5 separate regions of the Homo sapiens genome follow, and all the other regions are linked to region 4. The links are contacts of gene promoters, found by promoter capture Hi-C in human tissues and cell types (Jung and others, 2019). All regions are on one chromosome and are shown on one strand. Each heading gives the region's core, a stretch centred on a gene start or on the middle of the fragment in contact. The rest is flanking DNA. Distances are from core to core; before and after follow the strand shown.

Region 1 (2,700 bases), core at 184-2,683, 130 kb before region 4:
AGAGGGAGGAAGCCCGAGTGGGGCCCTGGGCTGGGGTCTCGGTATCCTCACGGGGTCACTCACACGCTGGCTCCCCCAGGACTGGACCCTTCACACCGGTGGCGTCTCTCGGGCCCGGCCAGGCTCTGGGTCCCGGGCTGTGGTGTCCTCCAGACCCAAGGCATCCGAGGTGCCCACTGCATGCGGGGTTTATTACGTGTTGCCAGGGGCGCTGGTTATTTTATTTTGCTTCTGGTTTTGCTCTGCCAGCCGCTTGTCTCCTGAATTCTCTGACTTTTTCTCAGCACCTCTGCTGGGACCTGCCCAGGAGCTCGGGCAGATGGGTTCCGCCAGCGGCGCCAACTCCCACGGCTCGCGGGGATGGGGAGTTGGGGGCTCTGAACCCGTGTGTGTGGAGCAGAAGGAGTGTCACCTCATCCCCCGGGGGCCCTTCACATCCCAGGCCCCACTGGACTGTGACGGGCAGTGGGAAGGGAGGACGTGTGTGGGGCCGAGAGGGAGCTCCCAGGAGACCCCGTCGTTGTCCTGGGGTGGCCGAGACAAAGCCTCACAGACCCCCAGACAGGGCCGTGCGGACGGCGGGAAGGCAGGTGACAAAGCCTCATAGACCGACAGGGCCGTGTGGACGGCGGGAAGGCAGGTGACAAAGCCTCACAGACCCACAGACAGGGCGGTGCGGATGGCGGGAAGGCAGGTGACAAAGCCTCACAGACCCACAGACAGGGTGGTGCGGATGGCGGGAAGGCAGGTGACAAAGCCTCATAGACCGACAGGGCGGTGCGGATGGCAGGAAGGCAGGTGACAAAGCCTCACAGACCCACAGACAGGGCGGTGCGGATGGCGGGAAGGCAGGTGACAAAGCCTCATAGACCGACAGGGCGGTGCGGATGGCAGGAAGGCAGGTGACAAAGCCTCACAGACCCACAGACAGGGCGGTGCGGACGGCGGGAAGGCAGGTGACAAAGCCTCACAGACCCACAGACAGGGCGGTGCGGACGGCGGGAAGGCAGGTGACAAAGCCTCACAGACCCACAGACAGGGCGGTGCGGACGGCGGGAAGGCAGGTGACAAAGCCTCACAGACCCACAGACAGGGCGGTGCGGACGGCGGGAAGGCAGGTGACAAAGCCTCACAGACCCACAGACAGGGCGGTGCGGACGGCGGGAAGGCAGGTGACAAAGCCTCACAGACCCACAGACAGGGCGGTGCGGACGGCGGGAAGGCAGGTGACAAAGCCTCACAGACCCACAGACAGGGCGGTGCGGACGGCGGGAAGGCAGGTGACAAAGCCTCACAGACCCACAGACAGGGCGGTGCGGACGGCGGGAAGGCAGGTGACAAAGCCTCACAGACCCACAGACAGGGCGGTGCGGACGGCGGGAAGGCAGGTGACAAAGCCTCACAGACCCACAGACAGGGCGGTGCGGACGGCGGGAAGGCAGGTGACAAAGCCTCACAGACCCACAGACAGGGCGGTGCGGACGGCGGGAAGGCAGGTGACAAAGCCTCACAGACCCACAGACAGGGCGGTGCGGATGGCGGGAAGGCAGGTGACAAAGCCTCACAGACCCACAGACAGGGTGGTGCGGACGGCGGGAAGGCAGGTGACAAAGCCTCATAGACCGACAGGGCGGTGCGGATGGCAGGAAGGCAGGTGACAAAGCCTCACAGACCCACAGACAGGGCGGTGCGGACGGCGGGAAGGCAGGTGACAAAGCCTCACAGACCCACAGACAGGGCGGTGCGGACGGCGGGAAGGCAGGTGACAAAGCCTCACAGACCCACAGACAGGGCGGTGCGGACGGCGGGAAGGCAGGTGACAAAGCCTCATAGACCGACAGGGCGGTGCGGACGGCAGGAAGGCAGGTGACAAAGCCTCACAGACCCACAGACAGGGCGGTGCGGACGGCGGGAAGGCAGGTGACAAAGCCTCACAGACCCACAGACAGGGCGGTGCGGACGGCGGGAAGGCAGGCGACAAAGCCTCACAGACCCACAGACAGGGCGGTGCGGACGGCGGGAAGGCAGGCGACAAAGCCTCACAGACCCACAGACAGGGCCGTGCGGACGGCGGGAAGGCAGGCGACAAAGCCTCACAGACCCACAGACAGGGCGGTGCGGACGGCGGGAAGGCAGGCGACAAAGCCTCACAGACCCACAGACAGGGCGATGCGGACGGCGGGAAGGCAGGCGACAAAGCCTCACAGACCCACAGACAGGGCGGTGCGGACGGCGGGAAGGCAGGCGACAAAGCCTCACAGACCCACAGACAGGGCGGTGCGGACGGCGGGAAGGCAGGCGACAAAGCCTCACAGACCCACAGACAGGGCGATGCGGACGGCGGGAAGGCAGGCGACAAAGCCTCACAGACCCACAGACAGGGCGATGCGGACGGCGGGAAGGCAGGCGACAAAGCCTCACAGACCCACAGACAGGGCGGTGCGGACGGCGGGAAGGCAGGCGACAAAGCCTCACAGACCCACAGACAGGGCCGTGCGGACGGCGGGAAGGCAGGCGACAAAGCCTCACAGACCCACAGACAGGGCCGTGCGGACGGCGGGAAGGCAGGTGACAAAGCCTCACAGACCCACAGACAGGGCGGTGCGGACGGCGGGAAGGCAGGTGACAAAGCCTCACAGACCCACAGACAGGGCGATGCGGACGGCGGGAAGGCAGGCGACAAAGCCTCACAGACCCACA
Region 2 (2,700 bases), core at 69-2,568, 160 kb after region 4:
TGTCTTCTTCTGAGCCCTCCAAACTCTTCCAACCTCTGCCCTTTACCCAGTTCCAAAGTTGTGTCCACATTTTCAAGTATCTTTGTAGCAGTGCCCCACTCCAGGTACCAATTTTCTGTATTAGTCCATTTTCACGCCTATACAGAACTACCTGAGACTGGGTAATTTATGAAGAAAAAAGGTTTAATTGACCCACAATTCCACATGGCTGGGGAGGCCTCAGGAAACTTACAGTCATGGCAGAAGGTGAAGGAGAAGCAAGACCTTCTTCACATGGTGGCAGGAGAAAGCGAGAGTGAGTGAAGGGAAAGTGCCTCACTTTTAAACCATCAAATCTCAGGAGAACTTGCTATCACAAGAACAGCAGGGGGGAACTGGCCCATAATCCAGTCACCTCCCACCAGGTCCCTCCCTTGACATGTGGTGATTACAAATCAAGATGAGATTTAGGTGGGGACACAGAGCCAAACCATATCAAAAGTATACCATAAAACAAATCTCAACAAATTTAAAAGAACTGAAATCATATAAGTGTTCTCAGTGTGGTTCTCTGAGCATAATGGAATAAAACTGGAAATCAATAATAGAATAATCTTCAAACACTGGAAATTTAAATCATACTTCTAAATAATCCTTGGGCCAAACAAGTCTTTTTTTTTTTTTTTCCTGAGACAATGTCTCTCTGTCGCCCAGGCTGACTGCAGTGATGCAATCATGGCTCATTGCAGCCTCGACCTCCTGGGCTCCAGCAGTCCTTCAACCTCAGCCTCCTGAGTAGCTGGGACCAAAGGTGTGCACCACCATGCCCAGCTAATTTTTAAATTTTTTGTAGAGATGGGGTCTCCCTGTGTTGCCCAGTCTGATCTTGAATTCCTGGGCTCAAGTGATCCTCCCACCTCAGCCTCTCAAAGTGTTGGGATTACAGGCATGAGCCACCTCACCTGGCCCAAAGAGGAAGTCTTAAGGGAAATCAAAACATACATTGAACAGAATGAAAATATATACACAACATATCAAAATTTGTGAGACCAAGCTATACAGTGTCAAGAGGGAAATTACATTAGAAAAAAGGAAAAACCTCAATGTACAATCTCAGGTCCCACCTGCAGTACCTAGAAGAGGAAGAGCAAAGCAAGTAGAAGGAATGAAATAATGAAGAGCAGAAGTCAATGGCGCTTAGCCCAGTAGAACAATAGGGAAAAGCAGTGAAACAAAGAGCCGACTCTTTGAAAGGATCAATAGAATAAACTTGGCCAGATGCAGTGGCTCACACCTGTAACCCCAGCACTTTGAGAGGCCAAGTCAGGAGGATCATTTGAGTCAGGAATCCAACACCAGCCTGGACAAGACCCCACCTCTACAAAAATATAAATTTAAAAATAAATTAGCAGAATATGTGGGCGCATGCCTGTCATCCCAGCTACTTGGGAGGCTGAAGGGAGAGGATCACTTGAGCCCAGGTCAAGGCTGCAGTGAGCCATGATCATGCCACTGCACTCCAGCCTGGACAACAGTGCAAGACCCTGACTCTAAATGCATAAATAAATAAATAATTCCTGGCAAGCCCAACAAAATTAAGAAGAGAGAAGACACACGTTACCAACGTCAGGAACAAAATAGAGGACATAACTGCATACCCTGTAGACATCAGAAGTGTGAGAAGGGAACCCTGCCAACAACTCTACATGCACATTTGACAGCCCAGATCTACTGGACCGATTCCTTGGAAAATACACACTACCACAATTCACCCAGTGTGAAATAGATCATGAGAATAGTCCTATAACTGTTAATAAACTTGAATTTGTAAATTAAAAATTCCTGAAAAAGCAATCTCCAAGCCCAGATGATTTCACTGGAGAACATCTAAACAACTAAACCTCTGAGTAAACATCTAAGGAAGAATTAACACCAATCTATACTGTCTTTTCCAAAAAATGGAAGAGGAGGGAACATTTTCTAAAACCTTATTAAATATTAGCAAATAGAAATCAGCAATACGTAAAAGGAATTATACACCATGGCCAAGTGGAGAGTTTATTCCAGGGATGCAAAGATGATTCAGTATTTAAATTCAATCAGTGTAAGCACCATATTGACAGGCTAAAGAAAAATCACATAATCATATAAGTTGATGCAAAAAACTTTTTAAATAACACCTCTTTTGATAAAAATTCTCAGAATATAGGAATCAAGGGGAAGTTTCTTGACTTGATAAAGAGTATCTACAAAAACCTTAGCTGACATACACTTAATGGTGAAAGACTGAATGTTCTTCCCCTCAGATGGAGAACAAGGCAAAAATGCTCACTTTCATCACTCTTATTCAACATATAACTGAAAGCTCTGGTCACTGCAGTGGGTAATAAAATGAAATAAAATGTATATAAGTTATAAAGGAAGAAATAAGACTGCCCCATTTGCAAATTACATGATTGTATACACAGAAAATCCCAAGAAATCTACAAAAAGCCAAAAAAAACTCTTAGAACTAATAAATGAATTCAGCAAGATTGCAAGACATAAGATAAACATACAAAATCAATACACTAGCAAGACACATGGATATCAAAATTAAACATAGAATATAATACCCTTTACAATTGTTCAACAAAATGAAATACTTAGGTATGAGTCTAGCAATACACATATAGAACTTTAATGCTGAAGACTACAAAAGGCAAATAAAAGAAATAATCT
Region 3 (2,700 bases), core at 194-2,693, 140 kb after region 4:
AAAGTCTGTTCAAATGGGTACAATGTACATTTTTTAAAAAAAGGCTATTCAAGTTCTTTGCCCATTTTATTTACTTATTTATTTAGAGACAGGGTCTCACTCTGTTGTCCAAGCTGGAGTGCAGAGGTGCAATCAGCCTCAACCTCCTAGGCTCAAGCAATCCTCCCACCTCAGCCCCTGGAGCAGCTGGGACTCCAGGCATGCACCACCACACCCAGCTAATTTTTGTATTTTTTGTAGAGAGAGGGTCTCGCTATGTTGCCAGGCTGATCTCAAACTCTTGGACTCAAGTGATCCTCCCACCTCAGCCTCCCAACGTGCTGGGATTACAGGTGTGAGCCACCATGCCTAGCCCCTTTGCCCATTTTTAGATTTGGTTGTTTGTCTTTAGTTACTGAGTTAGAGAAACTCATTATATGTTCTTGATATTAAGCCCTTATCAGATATGTGATTTGCAAATATTTTCCCCCAGTCTGTGGGCTTTCATTTTGTTGATAGTGTCCTCGGATGCACAGAAGTTTTTAATTTGAATGAAGCTCAGTTGATCTATTTTTATTTTGTTGCCTGTGCTTTTGATGTCATTTAAGCAACCATTGCCAAATCCAACATCATGAAGATTTGACCACATGTTTTATTCTAAGAGTTTTATAGTTTTATCTGTAAATTTTGGCCGTCAACCCATTTTTACTTGAATTTTTTTTTTTTTTTTTTTTTTGACAGAGCCTGGCTCTTGTCACCCAGGCTGGAGCACAGTGGCGCAATCTTGGCTCACGGCAACATCTGCCTCCCAGGTTCAAATGATTCTCCTGCCTCAGCCTCCCAAGTAGCTGGGATTACAGGCACCCACCACCACACCCAGCTAATTTATGTATTTTTAGTAGAGACGGGGTTTCACCATGTTGGCCAGGCTGGTCTCAAACTCCTGACCTCAGGTTGTCCACCCGCCTCGGCCTCCCAAAGTGCTGGGATTACAGGCGTGAGCCACCACGCCTGGCCTTTTACTTGAATTGTGTATATGGGGTGGGGTAGGGCTCAGCTGCACCCTTTTGTGTGAGCACATCCCCATCTTCCTGGTGCCATTTACTAGGAAGGGCCTCCTTCCTGAATTAAATGGTCCTGGCACTCTTTTCCCAAAATCACTTGATCATAGGTGTAGGGCTCATCTCTGGGCGTCCTGCTCCGCCCTCAACTGCCCTGTCTGTCCACAGGCCAGGCCATGCATCTTGATCGCCATAGCTTGGCAGCACCTTTGAGATTGGAAGTGTGAGGCCTCTATCATTGCCCTTCTTTTTCAAAATTGTATTGACTATTCGTGGTCCGTTAAGACTCCATATGAATTTTAGGACGGGCTTTTTCATTTCTGCAAAAAAGCACTGTTTTTTGTAGGCCATTCTAGAAGTGGGCTGAGTGAATGTGCCAGATGGGTTTGTTGTGAGGAAATCCCAGCACTGATATTTGGGGCTGGGATGTGAAGGCTTCAGTAAAACTTGTCAAATTCAGACTCAAGGTGCCTTTTGTACCATTGTCCTGGGGTTTAAGCAGGAAATGTTAGATTTTTAAAAGCTTTTTATTTGAACGATTTTTAGACTTATAGGAAAGTTGCAGATTCATAGAGGTTCCCATGTCTCCCACCCAGCTTCCTCCAGTGTTGGCAGAATGGTCCAGACCAGGGATTCCCACTGGCCCCGCCCTGGTCACTACTTTAAAACCCCACTCAGATGTCACCGCGTTCTTCATACTAGAGCCACGGTTCTGTCCAGGGCCCCTCACCATCGTTCCCATCATCCGTCTGTAATAGCTCTCCAGTTTGTTTTTCGTTTTTGTTTTTCACAATATTGATACTTTTTAAAGTTATTATTTTTTTGAGACAGGGTCTCACTCTGTCCCCCAGGCTGGAGTGTAGTGTTGCAGTCATGGCTCCCTGCAGCCTCAGCCTCCAGGGCTCAAGCATCCTCCCACGTCAGCCTCCCGAGTAGCTGGGGCCACAGGCGTGAGCCACCATGCCTGGCTAATTTTTGTAGAGATGGGGGTCTCGCTGTGTTGCCCCGGCAGGTCTTGAACTCCTGACCTCAAGGGATCCACCCACCCCGGCCTCCAAAGTGCTGAGATCACAGGTGTGAGCACCGTGCTGGGCCTTCAAACGTGTGCTGTGCTCACCCCGAGAGACTGGAGCCTGCTGCGTGTGGCTCTTCTAGTCTTTAGCCTCCGGATTTCATGGAAACACATTTTCCACAATTACCTGGGAGAGCCCTTGTCTCCCCACGCTTCCGTGGGGTTGTGGATTCCTTGTGAGGCACCTGGGCTTATCGTGGGCGTTGGTGTTGCGTGTGGGTGTGGCTCACTTGTGGCATGTGAAGAGCGTGTGGAGCACCCCAAGGCTTTAGGAGTCACTGCCTCTGGAAGGCCCTTCCCACCTCCCTCCATGGGGAGACAGCCTTAGTTTCTGTTCATCCTCCTCTGTTCCTCCTGCACAGCCAGGCAGGCACCTGTGCATTTCAGCTGGCCCCTGTCTTACACCATGGGTGGCAAATCTCTGCCTTTCTTCTCACTTTGCCTTCTCACTTAATGTCCTGGAAGTCATCTCGTGGCAGGCCTTACAGACCTTCCTCCTTCCGGCACGTGCCCCACCGTGTAGACACCCGCGTTTACTCAGCGACCTTGCTCTGTGCGGGCACTGGGCTGTTTCCAGGGTTTTGCCAT
Region 4 (2,700 bases), core at 149-2,648:
TAAACCAGTGAGAATTCCTCACAAACAAGTTCCTATTAGTCCACTCCCTGGCCCCCTTTTTTGCCTTTAAAATCCACTGTTAACTGCTAATCGGAGTACACATTCAGGGCGCCTTGAATTTGTGCTCAAGTGTGGCCCAAATAAACTCTCTACTTAGAGAAACTGTGTCTCCGCTCGTTTTCAGGCCGACAGTTTCCAAAATGTTAGTATTCAGCCTAACATGAGAAAAGTCACCATATAAAAGTGAGGGGGGAAAAGCAAATACAGGATAATCTCAATTGTATATAAAATTTATATACGTAAGGACAAAGATACATAGTAAAAAAAAAATTCTGGCAGGTATTAAGGCTGAAAAAATTAAAACAGTCCAGAGCGGTCTGGCTCAGGCCAGCCTGGGCCTGCCGAGTAGCTGGGACCTCAGCCACCGCGCCTGGCTAAGTATTAATGAATCTGTTTTAGAGATAGGGTCTTGCTACGTTGCGCAGGCTGGTCTCCAACTCCCAGGCTCAGGTGATCCGCCCGCCACAGCCTCCCGAAGTGCTGAGCCTCCCAAAGTGCTGAGACTACAGGCCTGGCCGCCCGCCCGCCAGCTTAATTCACGTAAATTCCAGACAAACGTAGAAAGTGGCTCCTTTAGTAAGCCACTTGCGGCTGCTGCTCATCAGGGTTCGCCTGGGGCCACTGAGACCACGCGCCGGTGCCCGCCCTCCCGCTGCGGTCCGATTTTCTGAACCAACCAGGCGCTTCCGGGCGCCTTGCCCCAGACGGGCCCACCGCCTGCGCGGGCCGAGGGCGGCGCACCTGCCCCTGCGCTTCCGCATCGAAGGTGAGGTCGGAGGAAGAGAAGACCGCAACCCCCAAGCTCCCGCGGCGTGGGGTCCGGGGGGGGACACGAGGCGGGGCCACCAGGACGCCGACAGCCTCACGTCTCTGGGCCCGCGGCGCGCAAGGCATGCCGGGACCCGTAGTCCCGCGACGTTGCGACTCACAGTGCGCGATGGGAGTGGAGGAGAGCGGCTCGCGGTGCATGCCGGAACTCGTAGTCTCGGGATGCTGGGTCTCAGCGCGTGATGGGGTAATGGCACGCAGGCCTGCGTTGAACGCTGGGACTCGTAGTCCCGCCATGCTCTGTCCGCGGTGCACGCCGGGATACGTAGTTCCGAGCGCGCCAAGACCGTCACTGGGACTGGGCGACAGCGGCCCGCGTTGCATGCCGCTGCTCCACGGTGCCGGCGCTCCGAGGAAAAGTAGGTAGGGCTCAGGAACGCAGTTCTTCACGGCCGGCACGCAGGGTTGGTCCCAGGACGGAGCCGGCTCCGGCCCCGCGCGGCGCTCGTATTTACACGCGCACGTACGCACGTACGCGGCGCCCTTGCGTGACGTCACGCGCCCTCCAGGAAGTCGGCGCGGGCTAGGCGACGGGTGGAAGCCGGTACCGAGAGGAACTACAGCGTCGCCGCCTGGGTTGTGTCGCCGCGGTAGGCGCTGCGCTCTGAGCGCAGCGCAGGCCCCGTACCGACCGCCCGCCCGCCCTCTGTCCGCGATGGAGGTGCCGGCCGCGGGTCGCGTTCCTGCCGAGGGCGCCCCGACGGCGGCTGTGGCCGAGGTGCGCTGCCCGGGGCCCGCGCCGCTGCGCCTGCTGGAGTGGAGGGTGGCGGCGGGCGCGGCCGTGCGCATCGGCTCGGTGCTGGCCGTGTTCGAGGCCGCCGCCTCCGCGCAGTCCTCCGGGGCCTCTCAGTCCCGTGTAGCCTCCGGGGGCTGCGTGCGCCCCGCGCGGCCGGAACGCAGGCTGAGGTCGGAGCGCGCGGGCGTGGTGCGGGAGCTGTGCGCGCAGCCGGGCCAGGTGGTCGCCCCAGGGTGAGTGTGCTGAGCCGGGCGGGGCCGAGGGCGGGCGGCTCCGGGGAGGGATCCTGGAGGACCCCCGGGCTGCTGCGTCCGCGGTGGGCAGGGGCGCCCCTGGTGAGGGAGCGATAAAGCGGGACGCAGGCACTGCGCTTCTCCCCTAAAACTGGATAGTCACCACCTGTGGTTTTACCAACGGGGAGCATTTTGAGATAAAAGGAAAGGGTCCTGCGTAGCGACACGAAGTTACTGTTTGGAAAAGCTATGTTTGTTTCTTTCTTTCTGCAGTGATAGTCCCCGCCCCTTCCTTTAGCTCCACCTTTGTGACTTAGGAAAACTCATGGGTGGCTGTGAGCACAAGAGTCATCAGGCAGGCTCCAGACCTGTTATTGAAATATAAACTGTTGGGTGTGTGCACATCTTTAAATTTTTGTAAACTTTGTGAAACGCAGTTGTAAAACCTGGTGCAGTTCTGTTTCGTGGCTAAGGAACGGGCGGAACCCAGGCCTGCAGCGAAGGCAGTAGCCCCGTGGTTGACCACAGTGGGCATTGTCGCAGGCTGCTTCAGGGTGACGTGGGCGTTGTGACAGACTCCACAGCTCTCAGTAGCTGTGCTCTGACCCCAGAAGGGGATATGTTTCCGTAGCACCGAAGTGTCCAGCCATGTTTGAATCTACCCTTGTGTTCTGGGATGGGCGGGCAAGTGGACACGCGTGTGCGCCTGGCTCTGGTAGTTTTGATTGTGAGAACAGAAACTCCAGGGAGAGGTGGACACTCCAGCCCGCAGTGGGCCGGGCGTGAGCTCCCTCTGGGAAAGGTGCCGCTCCTTCTGGGGATGCCACTCTCTTCCCTCCTCGG
Region 5 (2,700 bases), core at 134-2,633, 180 kb after region 4:
CTTTTGGCATTCTGTTTCAGAAACCAATGTCTCATCCATGGTCATGAAGATGTACAGTCTGTTTTCTTCTACGTGTGTTTTGGAGTTTTAGCTCTTACATTAAGGTCTTTGATCTAGTTTGAATTAGTTTTTATATATAGTGTGATGTAGGCATCTTGGTCCATTCAGTGTTGCTATAAAGGAATACCTGGAGCCAGGTAATTCATTTTAAAAAGAAGCTTGTGATGTCATCATGATTCTGATGTCTGGAAAAGTTCAAGATCAGGCATCTGCATCTGAGGAAGGCCACAGGCAGCTCCAGTCATGGCAGAAGATGGCGTGGAGCTGGTGTGTGCAGAGACCACACGGAGATGGAGGAAGCAAGGGCTAGGGGTGCCAGGCGGGTTCAACAGCCAACTCTGGAGTGAACTCATAGAGCGAGAACTCACTCATTACCATGAAGACACCTCCCAGCCATGCATGAGGGATCAGCCCCCATGACCCAAACCCCTCCCATTAGGCCCCACCTCCGACACTGGGTATCAAATTCCAATATAAGATTTGGAGGCCAATATCCAAACGATAGCAGGGTCCAACTTTATTTTTTTACATGTGGATAACCGTTTGTTGGAGACACTATTACTTCTCCATTGAATAGTCTTGACGACCTTGTCAAAAGTGAACTGACGGTAGATTTATGGGTTCATTTCTGGACTTTCAATTCTGCTCCATTGATTTTTATGTCTCTCTTTACACTAGTACTACACTCTTGATTGCTGTAGCTTTATACTCACTTTGAGTAAGTAGTAATGTACTAGTCCATGTTCGCATTCCTATAAAGGAATACCTGAGACTGGGTAATTTATAAAGAAAAGAGGTTTAATTCGCTCATGGTTCTTCAGGCTGTAAAGGAGGCACGGTGCCAATGTCTGCTAAGCTTCTGGGGAGGCTTTGGGAAGCTTCCAGTTATGGCAGAAAGCAAAGGGGGAGCAGGCACGTTACATGGTGAAAGCAAGAACAAGGTTGCGGGGTAGGTACCACACACTTTTAAACGAACAGATCTCATTTCGACACAAGATTTAGGTGGAGGCATGTAATAAAATGATATCAAGTAAGTTTGAGCCCTCCAACTTTGTCCTTTGTCAAGTTTGTTTTGGCTACCTTGCATTTCCAATAGAATTTTCAACTTGTCAATAGAATGTTCAACTTGTCAATGTCTTCAAAAAAGTTACTGGGATTTTCATATGGATTGGATTGACTCTGTTGATCAATTTAGGGAAGATTGCCATCTTAACAATATTAAGTCTTCCAATACATGAGCATGGAATGTCTTTTCATTTATTTAGTCTTAAAATTTCTTCCACCAATGTTTGTAGTTTTCAGTTTTCAGTGTAGGTTTCAGTTTCCACTCCTTGGTTAAATTTATTTCTAAGTATTTTATTCTTTCTGATGCTCTTATAAATGGAATTTTTTTAACTTCCTTTTCCGATTATTCATTGCTTTTGTATAGAAATACAACTGATTTTTTTTACCGATCTCATGTCTTGCAACTTTGCTGAACCCATTCTCATAGTGATGTGTGTGTGTGTGTGTGCGCATGTGTATGTGTATGTGTGCGTGTGTGTTCTTTAAGGTTTTCTGTACATAAGATCATAAGATCAAGTCATCTCAAAATATAGTTTTACTTTTTTCTTTTGAGTGTGGATGCCTTTTATTTCTTTCTCTTGCCTAATTTTTCTGACTATAATTTCCAGTTCAATGTTAAGTAGAACTGATGAGAGCAGGTATTTCAGTCTTGTTCCTGGTCTTAGGGGAAAGAATCCAGTCTTTCACCGTTGACTATGGAGTTAGCGGTGAGTTTTTCCTACGTGGACCTTGTCATGTGGAGGAAGTTCTCTTTTAGACCTAGTTATTGATTGAGTTTTTTGTTTAATCAGGAAAGGATGTTAGACTTCGTCAAATCCTTTTTCTGCCTCTATTGAAATTATCGCATGATTTTTCCCTTCATCCTATAAATGAGCGTATTATAGTAATTTTGTGTATTGTGCCACCCGTGTATTCCTGTGATAAATCTCTATGGTAAACGATCAAATGGTCATCATGTATAATCCTTTTAATATGAAGCTGGATTTATTTTGCTCATGTCTTGTGGAGGATTTTTGCCTCTGTTTTCTTCTCTCTCTCTCTTTTTTTTTTTTTTTTTTTTTTGAGATGGAGTTCTCACTCTGTTACCCAGGCTGGACTGCAGTGGCGCGATCTCGGCTCACTGAAACCTCCGTTCCCAGGTTCAGGCAATTCTCCCTGCCTCAGCCTCCCGAGTAGCTGGGATTACGGGCACCTGCCACCACACCCCGCTAATTTTTGTATTTTTAGTAGAGACAGGTTTTTGCCATGTTGGCCAGGATGGTCTCAAACTCCTGACCTCAGAGGATCCACCTGCCTCGGCCTCCCAAAGTGCTGGGATTACAGGCATGAGCCACTGTGCCGGGTCTTTGTCTTTAGACAGTTTGTGGTGTGTCAGTGTGGATGTCTTTGAATTTATCTTACTTGGAGTTTGTTGAGTTTCTTAGATGTGTAGATTAATGTTTTTCATCGAATTTGGAGGGTTTTTAAACCATATTTCTTCAAATATTCTTTCTTCCCTGTTCCCTCTTTCCTTTCAGGACTCTCACTATGCAAAAGCTGGTACATGTGATGGTCCCACAGGTCTCTTAGGCTCTG

The links. Contacts are between HindIII fragments. The study calls those that stand out against the background at their distance.
Region 1: a contact is called between a fragment that was not itself captured here and the fragment with the promoter of CTDP1 in region 4, in 2 of the 25 tissues and cell types used here (spleen and thymus).
Region 2: a fragment that was not itself captured here is called in contact with the fragment with the promoter of CTDP1 in region 4 in 2 of the 25 tissues and cell types used here (mesendoderm cells and spleen).
Region 3: a fragment that was not itself captured here is called in contact with the fragment with the promoter of CTDP1 in region 4 in 1 of the 25 tissues and cell types used here (spleen).
Region 5: a contact is called between a fragment that was not itself captured here and the fragment with the promoter of CTDP1 in region 4, in 5 of the 25 tissues and cell types used here (IMR-90 fibroblasts, dorsolateral prefrontal cortex, lymphoblastoid cells and 2 more).

What each region holds. Positions count from the first base shown.
Region 1 is chr18:79,549,384-79,552,083 of GRCh38, forward strand. No RefSeq gene overlaps it. Among named protein-coding and RNA genes, the nearest start is that of CTDP1-DT, 130 kb to the right of the region's middle. The HindIII fragment of the contact is 8,578 bases long and covers 1-2,700 here.
Region 2 is chr18:79,837,764-79,840,463 of GRCh38, forward strand. All of the region lies in intron 1 of KCNG2 (potassium voltage-gated channel modifier subfamily G member 2), which reads left to right. Among named protein-coding and RNA genes, the nearest start is that of KCNG2, 41 kb to the left of the region's middle. The HindIII fragment of the contact is 8,072 bases long and covers 1-2,700 here.
Region 3 is chr18:79,820,594-79,823,293 of GRCh38, forward strand. The region is part of intron 1 of KCNG2 (potassium voltage-gated channel modifier subfamily G member 2); the gene reads left to right. Among named protein-coding and RNA genes, the nearest start is that of KCNG2, 24 kb to the left of the region's middle. The HindIII fragment of the contact is 3,710 bases long and covers 1-2,700 here.
Region 4 is chr18:79,678,405-79,681,104 of GRCh38, forward strand. CTDP1 (CTD phosphatase subunit 1) reads left to right here and starts at 1,399. Exons shown (of 13, transcript NM_004715.5): 1 at 1,399-1,857. The coding sequence starts at 1,544. CTDP1-DT (CTDP1 divergent transcript) reads right to left here and starts at 1,341. Exons shown (of 5, transcript NR_136643.1): 1 at 990-1,341. RefSeq lists enhancers at 524-1,031, 1,032-1,540. The HindIII fragment of the contact is 29,025 bases long and covers 1-2,700 here.
Region 5 is chr18:79,859,109-79,861,808 of GRCh38, forward strand. The region is part of intron 2 of KCNG2 (potassium voltage-gated channel modifier subfamily G member 2); the gene reads left to right. Among named protein-coding and RNA genes, the nearest start is that of KCNG2, 63 kb to the left of the region's middle. The HindIII fragment of the contact is 4,051 bases long and covers 1-2,700 here.